2 separate regions of the Homo sapiens genome follow, and region 2 is linked to region 1. The links are contacts of gene promoters, found by promoter capture Hi-C in blood cells and fetal thymus (Javierre and others, 2016). All regions are on one chromosome and are shown on one strand. Each heading gives the region's core, a stretch centred on a gene start or on the middle of the fragment in contact. The rest is flanking DNA. Distances are from core to core; before and after follow the strand shown.

What was found. The method cuts DNA at HindIII sites, captures the fragments that hold promoters and counts their contacts. A CHiCAGO score of 5 or more calls a contact.
Region 2: a contact is called between a fragment that was not itself captured here and the fragment with the promoter of SMARCC1 in region 1, in 1 of 17 cell types (endothelial precursors). The highest score is 7.4, in endothelial precursors.

Annotation. Positions count from the first base shown.
Region 1 is chr3:47,779,267-47,785,552 of GRCh38, forward strand. SMARCC1 (SWI/SNF related BAF chromatin remodeling complex subunit C1) reads right to left here and starts at 2,627. Exons shown (of 28, transcript NM_003074.4): 1 at 2,337-2,627. The coding sequence starts at 2,531. RefSeq lists silencers at 2,101-2,340, 2,521-2,740, 3,151-3,200, 3,311-3,370 and an enhancer at 2,573-2,867. The HindIII fragment of the contact is 14,461 bases long and covers 562-6,286 here.
Region 2 is chr3:47,543,328-47,549,613 of GRCh38, forward strand. No RefSeq gene overlaps it. Among named protein-coding and RNA genes, the nearest start is that of CSPG5, 32 kb to the right of the region's middle. RefSeq lists an enhancer at 1-118. The HindIII fragment of the contact is 3,422 bases long and covers 1,064-4,485 here.

The sequences.
Region 1 (6,286 bases), core at 1,377-3,876:
GACACTAACAAAATCATGTTTACTGAGACTGAAACTGTTGTCTGCTCTGAAAATGCAGTATTAAATGCACTAGAAACGGTTAGTTAAAACCAATGCGTACACCAAATAGAAATGCACTGTGTAGAAAAGAAGCAAAGAACTTTGTGATAATATTTTCACCACTTCAACGCTAACACCCAGAGACTGAAAAGATTCTGGCTGTCAGGCCTAGGGTATATACGTTTCTCAATCTCAGTAGACCCTAGAAATACACTCTGGCTTTACAAAGTCCTGAGAAGTCAAAGGTAACTTTGTCTATAAAGTCTCAGGGATAGTGAATCAACATTAGCCTAGTGGTCTCAATACTGCTGGGCAATTCCTCAAACTGCTTTGTAGCCACTTCCCTACCCACCCAAACAAATATCGAAGGATTATCCATGTCTAAAGCTTCTTGTAGTTGATCCCAAACTGATGCACACTGAACAGTGCGGAGAGGTAGAAATTACTGAAATTTGCCTTTTTCTACTCTCTTCCTTGATATTATTCAAAGGAATATGCCTGTAGATTATTTTTCTTTGTTAAAGCTTCACTGAATTTAAGACCCAAAGCATTGGCTAAAAGGAATGTAATAAAGAAGAATTAACCAATATTTTCATAACATATTCAATTCCATTAGCCACTTCTGGAAGCTCTATTACTTACATTTAAAAAGTGACCAATTTATCACTGTGTAAGAAAGGGCAATATTACTAAAAATCTACAGTCTAAATGTAATTTCAGAGGAGGAAAAGTCCAGACACCTAAAAATATAATTACTGTCTCTCACTTCCTCAAACTTCAGATAAGAAATGTAATTTTTCTAGCTGACCTTCAAAAACAAGAAAGAAAGAAATGATCATTTCTGGGTCTTTGGTTTTTTTTTGTTTTTTTTTTTTTTTTTTTTTTGGAGACAGTCTTACTTTATTACCTAGGCTGGAGTGCAATGGTGCAATCTCGGCTCACTGCAGCTTCTGCCTCCTGGGTTCAAGAGATTCTCCTGCCTCAGCCTCCCGAGTAGCTGGGATTACAGGCATGTGCTGCCACACCCGACTAATTTTGTATTTTTTGGAAAGACGGGGTTTCACCATGTTGGTCAGGCTAGTCTCGAACTCCTGACCTCAGGTGATCCACCCGCCCGGCCTTCCAAGCCGCGCCCGGCCAGAAATGGTCATTTCTGAATGTACCACGTGTAATGCCAAAGGAACCCAAGATCCCTGCCCATGCCTAATAACTGCCAAACACTGACAGGCTTCACTGAGCTGCTGAGGCCAAAAAAATAGGTTCCTAAACTAGTTTATGTTTTCATTCATTCAACAAATATTTACTAAGCAGCCACTAAGGGTAAGGCAATAAGTATCAGCCACGTTCCCGGATACACTGCAGTGAACAAAGCCCTTGCTTCAGTGCTATGATTCTCAATAGGAGAAAGTACAGAACTAAAGAGGGTGATAGGAAAACTTCAGAGGCTGGGGAGCCTTTTCGGCTACCTGCTTCATTACACCCTTTAAGGGAGTCCTCCTGAATATTTACACAAAAGGGAAGTTGGAAAAAAAAAAAACATTTGTTATAAACAAAGGATTAAGTCAAAACTTTGAAAACTACTGACTCGGCGGAACTTCCGTTCCAAAGGTAGGAGAAATCAGTAAATGAATAATTTCAAAATGTGGTAAACACTACGAAGAAAATAAAGGTGACACAAGAAAAGTGCTCTAATAAAAACTGGGTTCTTGGGGAAGGCCTCCCTTTAGAACACTTTACGTACAAGCGACCATCAACTCTCACGCCACACAGAACCAGAAGCACGATGAGGTAGAACCGTCGTTAATAGTTCTCATCCATCCTAGAATTCATATTGCCTGTTATTAATTAACGAATACAATCATCCCAGTCGTTTAGCAATTCAACAACAGGTAGCAAACCCCCTCGAGACTTTGAATACGCTCTAAACAAAACTTGAAGCTGCTTTTACCACGCTTGCTCGGTCTTTAGGGATCATTGTTCACACACCTAAGGCAGCTGACAAAAGAGAGAGAGTCACACTCGCTTAGTGGCTGAGCTCGACCTGCTCTGGCACACGAGACTGAGCAGGGGCTTTCACCATGGGTGCGTAGGCTCAGAGGAGAGAGCCCCGAACCCCAGTCAGGCCCCGGGATCGCGGGCGCCCAGAGCGGGCGGCGGGGGCGTGGCGGGCCCGGCGCCTGCCTTTGTTGTCCCTCGTGGCGTGCGGGGGGGAGGGGCGGCCCGAGGCCCGCGAGGCCAGCTGCCGCCTCCGGCCCCGGTCGCGTGGTCTCCCGGCCCCCACGGGCGCGCGAACCCACCTTCTTGTAGTGCTTGCCCAGCCAGACCCGCACCGAATCCAGCTGGGACACCGTCTCCGGGCTCTCCCAAAACTTGGTGGCCGGGCCCCCATCCTTCCGTCGATAAACAGCTAGGCCTGCGGCTGCCGCCGCAATCCCCGAGCCCGTGGCGCCTACCGCTGTCCCCGGCCCGCCGCCGCCCGCCGCTGCGGCCATCGTCGCAGCCCGTCGTCCCCACAGCCTGGCCCACCCCGGCCCTCGCGGTGTTTCCCGGTCGTTCCCGCGCGCACCCCCGCGCGCGTAGCCGCCACTGCCGCTTCCCGGCCCCGCCCAGCCAACCCTCTTCCGGCGCGGACGCCCGGCCCCGCCCCATCTGGGAACTGGCACTGTATCTGACGCGAGCCAGCGCACGCGCATGCGTAGCACTCGTGCGGCCGTGCCTTGGAATAGCACGTCCTGCGGCCTCAGCCGCCTCTTCCGCCATCCTCCGTAGGCTGCATTCTGCCCTAGTGAGCGCCGGTTTTTGAGCCTTGCTCTTCCCTCGCTACCGACGTCGAATCATTATGCGGTCAACAACCGCAGGTGGGTTATGTGTCATAGCCCGCCTCCGCTGGAGGGAAAAGGCCTGGTGCGAGAAATGCCCAAGGGAAAGCCTGTCTAGGGTATCGAGTGCTGGCCGAGGGCCCTGCACCCGGACTGGGACTGCGCCGGGCCCCGCTTTCCCTCAGGCCCTCCACCCCCAGCGGCCCGGCGGCATTTGTGAACAGCCATCTGGGACTCCCACGCCTAGGCTTTTCGGCTTCACAGACCTTCCACTCCCTCAGGGGTCCAGCCACAGCGGCTCATTCCTGCCCCAGGGGCCCTTGCACTGGCTCTTTCGAGACCTCAGCAGGTCTTCCCTTCTGATTTGCACTTACGAGACGCGTTCAGATTCACTGCTTCAAAGGACTTCAGAAAGTAGTTGTCAGATCTTAACAATCTTGAACAACTGTTCACACCCATACACTTTCTGCATAGCGCTCACCACGACCCGGCGTTTCTAGTTTCTCATTTACCTTCCACATAAATTACATGAGAACCTAATCTTAACTTGTTCACAGGTGTATCCTGAACACCTGAGACAAGGAACAGATGTACAGTAAATACTTGATGAGTTAATGAATGGCCCACATAGAAGCCGAAAATTTTTAAATTATTAACAAGGTATATTGGCCGGGTGCGGAGCACTTTGGGAGGCTGAGGCGGGAGGATCAATTGAGCCCAGGAGCTCTAGACCACCACACCCATCCCCGTCTCTACAAAAAATACAAAAATCAGCCAGCGTTGTGTTGCAAGCCTGTGGTCCTAGCCTCTTGGAGGGCTGAGGTGGGAGGATCCCTTGAGCTGGGGAGATGGAGGCTGCAGTGAGCTATAATCGCGCCACTCACTACACTTCAGCTTGGGCGACAGAGCGAAACCCTGTTTCAGAAACATAAAAAGTATGACTGGCCATAATGGAGTTGTGAACATAATGCTATATGATCGCAGAGAAGCAAGTAACTAATTGCTTGTGAGAACGTGACTAACTGCTGGTAAGTTTCTGAGATCTTTTAAAAATGAGGGTGTGTACATGTTTTCAGGATCTCCTGAGGGCTGTGTCACGGACAGTAAAATATATTAAATAAAAAAGTTAATAGAATGTGATCAAGAGGGCCAGGCGAGATAGCTCACGCCTGTAATCCCAACACTTTGGGAGGCCAAGGCAGACTGATCACGAGGTCAGGAGTTCCAGACCACCCTGGCCAACATGGTGAAACCCCGTCTCTACTAAAACTACAAAAATTGGCCAGGTGTGGTGGTGCATGCCTGTAATCCCAGCTACTCGGGAGGCTGAGGCAGGAGAATTGCTTGAACCCAGGAGGAGGTGGAGATCGCAGTGAGCTGAGATCACGCCACTGCACTCCAGCCTAGGCGACAGAGCCAAACTCGTCTGAAAAAAAAAGTTTTTAATTTGAAACTTTCTCAGATTTAACAGAAAAGTTGCAAATATAATACAAAGAACTTTTCCTGAATCATCTAAGAGTAAGTTGCTGACATAATACCCATCACTATCAAAAAGTTTAATGTGTATTTTCTACAGACAAGTATAGTCTATATATTCTCTTACATAATCACAATACAATCATTTATACCAGGAAATTAACACTGATGCCATCCCCAGACCCCATTCAGGTTTTTCCTATTGCACCATGAAGTCCTTTATAGCAAAAGTTTCCAGTTCAAAATCACACTTTGCATTTAATAAAGTTTCATCTCCTTCAATATGGAACAGTTCCTTAGTCCTTAAACCTTAACAACATTGATACCTATGAAGATTACAAGGCATTTATTTTGTAGAATGACCCTCAATTTAAGTTTGTCTGATGTTTGTATCTTTGTGTTCTTTGCATTGCATTCTATCAGGTGGTGCATAATTTCATTTCTCCTGTTACATTGATGACAGAGTATCATCCAGGTTTCTCTACTGCGAAGTTATTCTTTTTGCCTTTGTAATTAATCACTATTTTCTATGGAGGTATTTTGTTTTTTTGCTTTTCGGGGGTTTTTTGAGATAAAGTCTTGCTTTGTCACCCAAGCTGGAGTGCAGTGGTGTGATCATGGTTCACTGCAACCTCCACTTCCTAGGCTCAATTGATCCCTTTGTGGAGGTATTTTGAAAGTATATTGGCCGGGCGCAGTGGCTCACACCCGTAATCCCAACACTTTGGGAGGCCAAGGCAGGCAGATCATGAGGTCAGGAGTTCGAGACCAGCCTGGCCAACCTGGTGAAACTCCATCTCTACTAAAAATACAAAAATTAGCCGGGTGTGGTGGCAGGCATCTGTAATCCCAGCTACTTGGGAGGCTAAGGCAAGACAATGGCTTGAAACCGGAAGGTGGTGGATGTTGCAGTAAGCCAAGATCTCGCCACTGCACGCCAGCCTGGGTGGACGAACGAAACTCCATCTCAAAAAAAAAAGAAACTTGTTTCTAGAGTATAGAAAGAGCTCTTACAACTCAGTAATGAAAAGACCAGTAACTCAGCTGACCAATTAATCAATAACCCAATGGAATAAACTTGATACATGCAACACTGGGGAGTCTTACCCAAGTTATATGGGTAACTATATATATATACCCAATGTATAGTGTATGATTCAATATACGTGGAGTTACAGAATAGGTTAAACTGAAGTGTGGTTGCCTCTGGGGAAGTGAAGGGGCATGAGAGAACTTTCTGGGGTGATGATAATAAGCTGCAGTTTGATACAGATTTGTATTACACAGGTGTCTCCATACCAACTTATGGAATGATATGCAAGAGTTGTGGATTTTACTGCATGTAAATTTTACCTCAAAAGAAAAGAACTCTAGGAGCTGGCCATGGTGGCTGAGTCAGGAGGATCGCTTGAGCCCAGGATTTCAAGTCCAGCTTGGCCAGTGTGGCAAGATCCGTATCTAAAATTAAAGCATCAGGCCAGTGCAATGGCTCATGCCTGTAATCCCAGCACTTTGGGAGGCCAAGGAGGGTGTATCAATTGAGGTCAGGAGGTGGAGACCAGCCTAGACAACATGGAAAAACCCCATCTCTACAAAAAAGGTTACCTGCATGTGGTGGCACATGCCTGTAGTCCCAGCTCCTTAGGAGGCTGAGGCAGGAGAATTGCTTGAACCCAGGAGGCAGAGGTTATAGTGAGCTGAGATCATACCACTGCACTCCAGCCTGGGGACAGAAGGAGACTCTGTCTCAGGAAAAAAAAAAAAAAAAAAAAAAATCAGAAACTGCATGACCATTTACCAGCCATTACAGACATTAGCTTTCTCAGTTTATGGTAAGTTTACCAAAAAGGTTTCTCAAAAACATAGGAAAGGCCAGGTGCGGTGGCCCATGCCTGTAATCCCAGCACTTTGGGAGGCTTAGGTGGGTGGATCATCTTAGGTCAGGAGTTCGA
Region 2 (6,286 bases), core at 1,525-4,024, 240 kb before region 1:
CTGAGACCAGGTAGTGAACAAGACAATCAGGATCCCTGCTCTCAGAAATCTCTATTCTGACTCCTCAGGCAGAAAGCAAGTAAACCAATGCGGAAAAACTACACAGAGGCAAAGAATGGTTATGGGCACTGACTCCACAGGCTGAAGGCTCTGGGTTCAAAGCCCAGCCCTGGCTCCACCATCTGACCACCGGAAAGCTATTTAACCTCTGTGCCTGGGCCTCCTCCTCTGTAAGGTGGGATAATAAAAGTATCTATCACACAGGATAGCTCTAAGAATTAAAGGAGTTAATATATGTAAAGCACTTCAAACACTACCTGGCATATAGTAAACATCACAGAAATATTGTTTTTCATTTGTTTGTTTGTTTGTTTTGAGACGGAGTCTCGCTCTGTAACCCAGGCTGGAGTGCAGTGGCACGATCTCAGCTCACTGCAACCTCCACCTCCCAGGTTCAAGTGATTCTCCTGCCTCAGCCTCCCGAGTAGCTGGGATTACAGGTGCCTACCATCACACCCAGCTAATTTTTCATATTTTCAGTAGAGACAGGGTTTCATCATGTTGGCCAGGCTGGTCTCGAACTCCTGACCTCAGGTGATCTGCCAGCCTTGGCCTCCCAAAGTGCTAGGATTACAGGCGTGAGCCACCACGCCTGGCCAAGTGTTTGTTAAATGAAAAATAAAGTAGTTTCCAGTAGAGACATATACTCTGAAGAACCTGAGTGGGAGGGAGTGTCGGGGGAGGTGTGGGGTGAGGAGAGCCACATCAGGGAAGGTAAAAATTAGACTGCTTTTGGCTTCAAGTAATAAGAAACCTGGAAACTGGGCAGCTCCAGAACTGACCATTTCAGGGACTCACGGACATCTGTGAAGAACCAGGCACTTTGCTGCTCTCTGTTCTGTTACCTTCAGCCTTGGCCTCAGGCTGGTGCCCCTCGTAGCCACAAGATGGCTGCCACTGTGCCAAGGATTATATCTAAGGATGTAATGCATGTCAGAGGTCACTGGAGAAGAGATCGTCTATTCCTGGTGATAGAAAAACTTTCCTGGAATTCACCCCAGTAAGCTTCACTTCACAACTCATTTACCAGAGCAGCGTCACGTGTTCACGCTTAAAGCTGATCACCAAGGCTGGACGCAGTGGCTCACACCTGTAGTCCCAGCACTTTGGGAGGCTGAGGCGGGCGAATCACTCGAGCCCAGGGGTTTGAGACCAGCCTGGGCACCATGGCAAGACCCTGTGTCTACAAAATTTTAAAAAATTAAAAATTAAGGGCTGGGCACGGTGGCTCACACCTGTAATCCCAGCACTTTGGGAGGCCGAGGTTGGTGGATCACCTGAGGTCAGGAGTTCGAGACCACCCTGGCCAACATGGTGAAACCCTGTCTCTACTAAAAATCCAAAAAATTACTGTGGCGGTGGGCACCTGTAATCCCACCTACTCCGGAGGCTGAGGCAGGAGAACCGCAGGAACTCTGGAGGTGGAGGTTGCGGTGAGTCGAGATAGTGCCATTGCACTCCAGCCTGGGGAACAAGAGCAAAACTCCGTCTCAAAATAAATAAATAAATAAATAAAAATGTAAAAATAAAACCAATCACTGGCAAGGTGACAGAAATCACCTGGATTGGGTTACCAATTAGGACTCGCTCCTAAACACAGGGGCTCTCAGGGGAGGCATGGTAACGAAACAAAGACGAGGTCCTCAGGAAGGATCACCATATTGTTGTTGGGTAGGCAACCACCAAATTCTGCAACAAAGGGTCAGGGGAGGCCTCGTTGAGGACGTTGCTCTGAGCAGGGATCTGAATGATGGGAAGGAGCCATCCGTACAGCGATGTGAGGGAAAGACATTCTCAGCAGAGGGAGCAGCACGTGCAAAGACTCTGAAGTGAGTCTTGTTATTCAAGGAACATAAGGAAGACCACAGTGGCCATAGGATGGATTGAACAAAAGGGAAACAAGACGATAATAGCTTTTGGAATTTTAAATATATAGTGAGAATTTAAAAATATTAACTGTAGCATATATATGAGGAGAGAAACAAATGAGTTAGTGCTCTAAGGTTCTTTAATTGCCTGGGAAGAAGATAACAATAATGTGAAAACCATATATTGACAAGAAAGGGATGCAAGTTATAATTTCTACAACCATGCTATCTAATATAGTAGCCGCCAGCCACGTGACATTGAGGGGCCAGGAGAGCTGTCGCATGACGGTCAATTTACATTTAAATTAAGTAAAATTAAACAAAATTAAAAATTCAGTTTCTTAGTTGTATTAGCCACACTTCAAATGCTCAATAGCACATGTGGTTACCACACTGAACAGCAGCAACACCGAATATTTTCATTCAGTACAGAATGAAAAATGGGTCAAAACTCTTCTAGAGAAATTACTAAATGAATATAGAAAAAGCGAGTAACTTTCATTTCTTTTTTTTTTTTCTTTTTTTGAGACAGAGTTCTGCTCTATCACCCAGGCTGGAGGGCAGTGGCATGATCTCAGCTCACTGCAACTGCCACCTCCCAGGTTCAAGTGATTCTCCTGCCTCAGTCTCTCGAGTAGCTGGGATTACAGGTGTGCACCACCACGCCTGGAAAATTTTTGTGTTTTTAGTAGAGACAGAGTTTCGCCATGTTGGTAGGCTGGTCTCAAATTCTTGGCCTCAAGTGATCTGCCTGCCTCCGCCTCCCAAAGTGCCAGGACTACAGGCATGAGCCACCGCTACCAGCCTTGAAAAAAGCTAATAACTTTCAAACTGATAGTGGCAAAGCATAAAATGATAAAAATAATCATTTCTTATTTTGCAAACTGGGCAATGGTAATGAATAAAATTTGAAATTTTAATTTTACTCATGGATTTTCAAATGAGATTTTTTTTTTTGAGACTGAGTCTTGCTCTGTTGCCCAGGCTGGAGTGCAGTGGTGTGATTTCGGCTCACTGCAGCCTCCGCCTCCTGATCTCAAGTGATCCTCCCACCTCAGCGTCCCGAGTAGTTGAGACCACAGGTGCCCGCCCCACGCCCTGCTAATTTTTGTATTTGTATTTTTAGCAGAGACAGGCTTTCGCCATGTTGGCCAGGCTGACCTCGAACTCCTGATCTCAGGTGATCCGCCTACCTCAGCCTCCCAAAGTGTTGGGATTACAGGCGTGAGCCACTGCGCCCAGCCGAGATATTTTTTAAAAAATATTTTATTAGGTATTAGATAGTAGTGCAGGTCAGGCATGGTGGCTCACACCTGTAAAACCAGCACTGTGGGAGGGCGAGGCGGGCAGATCGTTTGAGGTCAGGAGTTGGAGACCAGCCTGAGCAACATGGCGAAACCCTGTCTCTACAAAAAAAAACTACAAAAACTAGCTGGGCATGGTGGCACGCATCTGTGGTCCTGGCTTTGCAGGAGGCTGAGGCGGGAGGATCGCTTGAGCCTGGGAGGTCAAGGCTCCAGTGAGCCAAGATCGTGCCACTGCACTCCAGCCCAGGAGGCAGAGCAAGACCTTGTCTAAAAAAAAGAAAGAAAAATAGAAAAAAAATTCCACAATGTTCTACTAAACATTAAAGGAAGATATGGTGCCAATATACACAAACCCCTCAGGAAAATATAAAAAGAGGTACATTGGCCGGGCGCGGTGACTCACACCTGTAATCCCAGCACTTTGGGAGGCCGAGGTGGGCGGATCACGAGGTCAGGAGATCGATTCCGTCCTGGCTAACATGGTGAAACCCCGTCTCTACTAAAAATACAAAAAAATTAGCCAGGCGTGGTGTCAGGCGCCTGTGGTCCCAGCTACTCGGGAGGCTGAGGCAGGAGAATGGCGTGAACCTGGGAGGCGGAGCTTGCAGTGAGCCGAGATCGCGCCACTGCACTCCAGCCTGGGCGACAGAGTGAGACTCTGTCTCAAAAAAAAAAAAAAAAAAAAAAAAAGAAGTACATTACCCAACACATCTTTTTTTTGAGATGGAGTCTTGCTCTGTCACCCAGGCTGGAGTGCAGTGGCGTGATCTTGGCTCACTGCAACCTCTGCCTCCTGGGTTCAAGCAATTCTCGTGCCTCACCCTCCCGACTACCTGGGATTACAGATACCCCCCACCATGCCCAGCTAATTTTTGTATTTTTAGTAGAGACTGGGTTTTGCCATGTTGGCTAGGCTGGCTTCGAACTCCTGACCTCAGGTGATCTGCCTGCCTCCGCCTCCACATCCAGCTACTCAATATATTTTAGAAGGCTGACATAACCTTGATACCAAACACCCAACAAAGATAGGCAGGTTATAGGCCAATCTAACTCATTAACATATATGCAAAGACTAAAAATACACTTTGGCAAATTTGATCTAATAATAATTTGAAAGGTTAATGCATCTGACCAAGTTAGGTTTATTCCAAAATTACAAGATTGGTTTAACATTTGAAAAATCAATGTAATTTTCTGTATTAAGCAAATAAGTTAGGAAAATTACATGATTAGCCTAATAGATGTGGAAAAGCTTTTGATATAATTTAACATCCATTAAAATTAAAACTCTTCAAAACTATGAATAGAAGAGAACTTTAATGTGATAAAGGGTAGCTGCAAAAAAAGCTTACAGCAGGCAGTCTTAATGATGAAATGTTGAAGGCATTTTTTCTCTTTGAGATTGGCAATGATATGAGGATGTCTGCTCTCACCATTATGTATTCTTAAGGTACTGAAAGGTCCTGGCTAGTGTGATATCCAAGAAAGAGAATTAAAACGTGTAAGGATTGTAAAGGAAGAAACAAAGCTATTATTATATGGAGATTACATGATTTTATACATAGAAAATCCCAGTGCACTGTGGGAAGCAGAGGAGGGAGGATTGCTTGAACTCAGCAGTTCGAGATCAGCCTGATAACATAGCAAGACCTTGTCTCTACTAAAAACCAAAAAATGTAGCTGGGCATGGTGGTGGGCATCTGTAGTTCCACCTACTCAGGAGGCTAGGGTGAGAGAATCGCTTGAGCCCAGGAGATCAAGGCTGCAGTGAGCTGTGATTGCACCACTGCACTCCAGCCTGAGCAAAAGAGCAAGACCCTGTCTCAAAAAAAAAAGAAGAAGAAAAGAAAATCCAAAAGAATGTATGGATGAATTATTATAAGGGTATTTAGCAAAGTTTGCTGAATACCAAATCAATACTAAAAAATAATTGAGCTTCTTTACAAAAAGCAGTATGTATGTTTCAATATGAAAAGCAATATATAACTAAAAAATTAAAAACTAAAAAGTTGGCTGGTAGCAGTGGCTCACACCTGTAATCCCACCACTTTGGGAGGCTGAGGCAGGAGGATGGCTTAAGACCAGGAGTTCCAGCTTACAGTGTTATTTGTGTGTCACTGCAGTCCACCCTGGGTGACAGAGTGTGATCCTACCTGTAAAAAAATAAAAATTAAATTAAAAAAAAAAACCAAATCAGCCGGGCTCAGTGGCTCATGCCTGTAATCCCAGCACTTTGGGAGGCTGAGGTGGGCGGATCACCTGAGGTCAGGAGTTCGAGACCAGCCTGGCTAACATGGTGAAACCTCATCTCTACTAAAAATACAAAAATTAGCTTGACGTGGTGGTGGGTGCCTGTAATCCCAGCTACTTGGGAGGCTGAGGCAGGAGGATCGCTTGAACCTGGGAGGTGGAGGTTGCAGTGAGCTGAGATATCCATGATATCTTTTTTTGAGACTGTGTCTCAAAACCAAACCAAACCAAACAAGAAACCCCAAATTGTATGGTATGTGGCCTTTTGAGTCTGGCTGCCTCTGCTCAGCTTAAGGTTTTTGAGATTCACCCATTTGATGTAGCTCATACTTTTTTTTGTTGTTAAATAGTATTCCACTGTATGGCTGTACCACAGTTTATCCACCCACAGTTGGCATACTTTGGGTTATTTTTTGGTTTCAGTTATTTTAAAGCTGCTAGCCCCATACATATGCAGGTCTTTGTAAGGACATGTTTTATTTCTGTTGACTAAATATTTAGAAATGCAATTACTGGGTTCTGTACATGTTTACCTTTATAAGAAACTGCCAAATTGTTTTCCAGGGTGGCTATACCAACTTGCTTTCTAAGCCATGTTCCAGTGGCTCCTCCAGTCCTCTTCAGCACTTATCTTCAGCAATTTTTTTTTTTTTTGAGATGGAGTTTCGCTCTTGTTGCCCAGCCTGGAGTGCAATGATGCGATCTTGGCTTACTGCAACCTCCACCTCCCAGGTTCAAGCGATTCTCCTGCCTCAGTCTCCTGAGTAGCTGGGATTACAGGCGCATGCCACCATGCCTGGC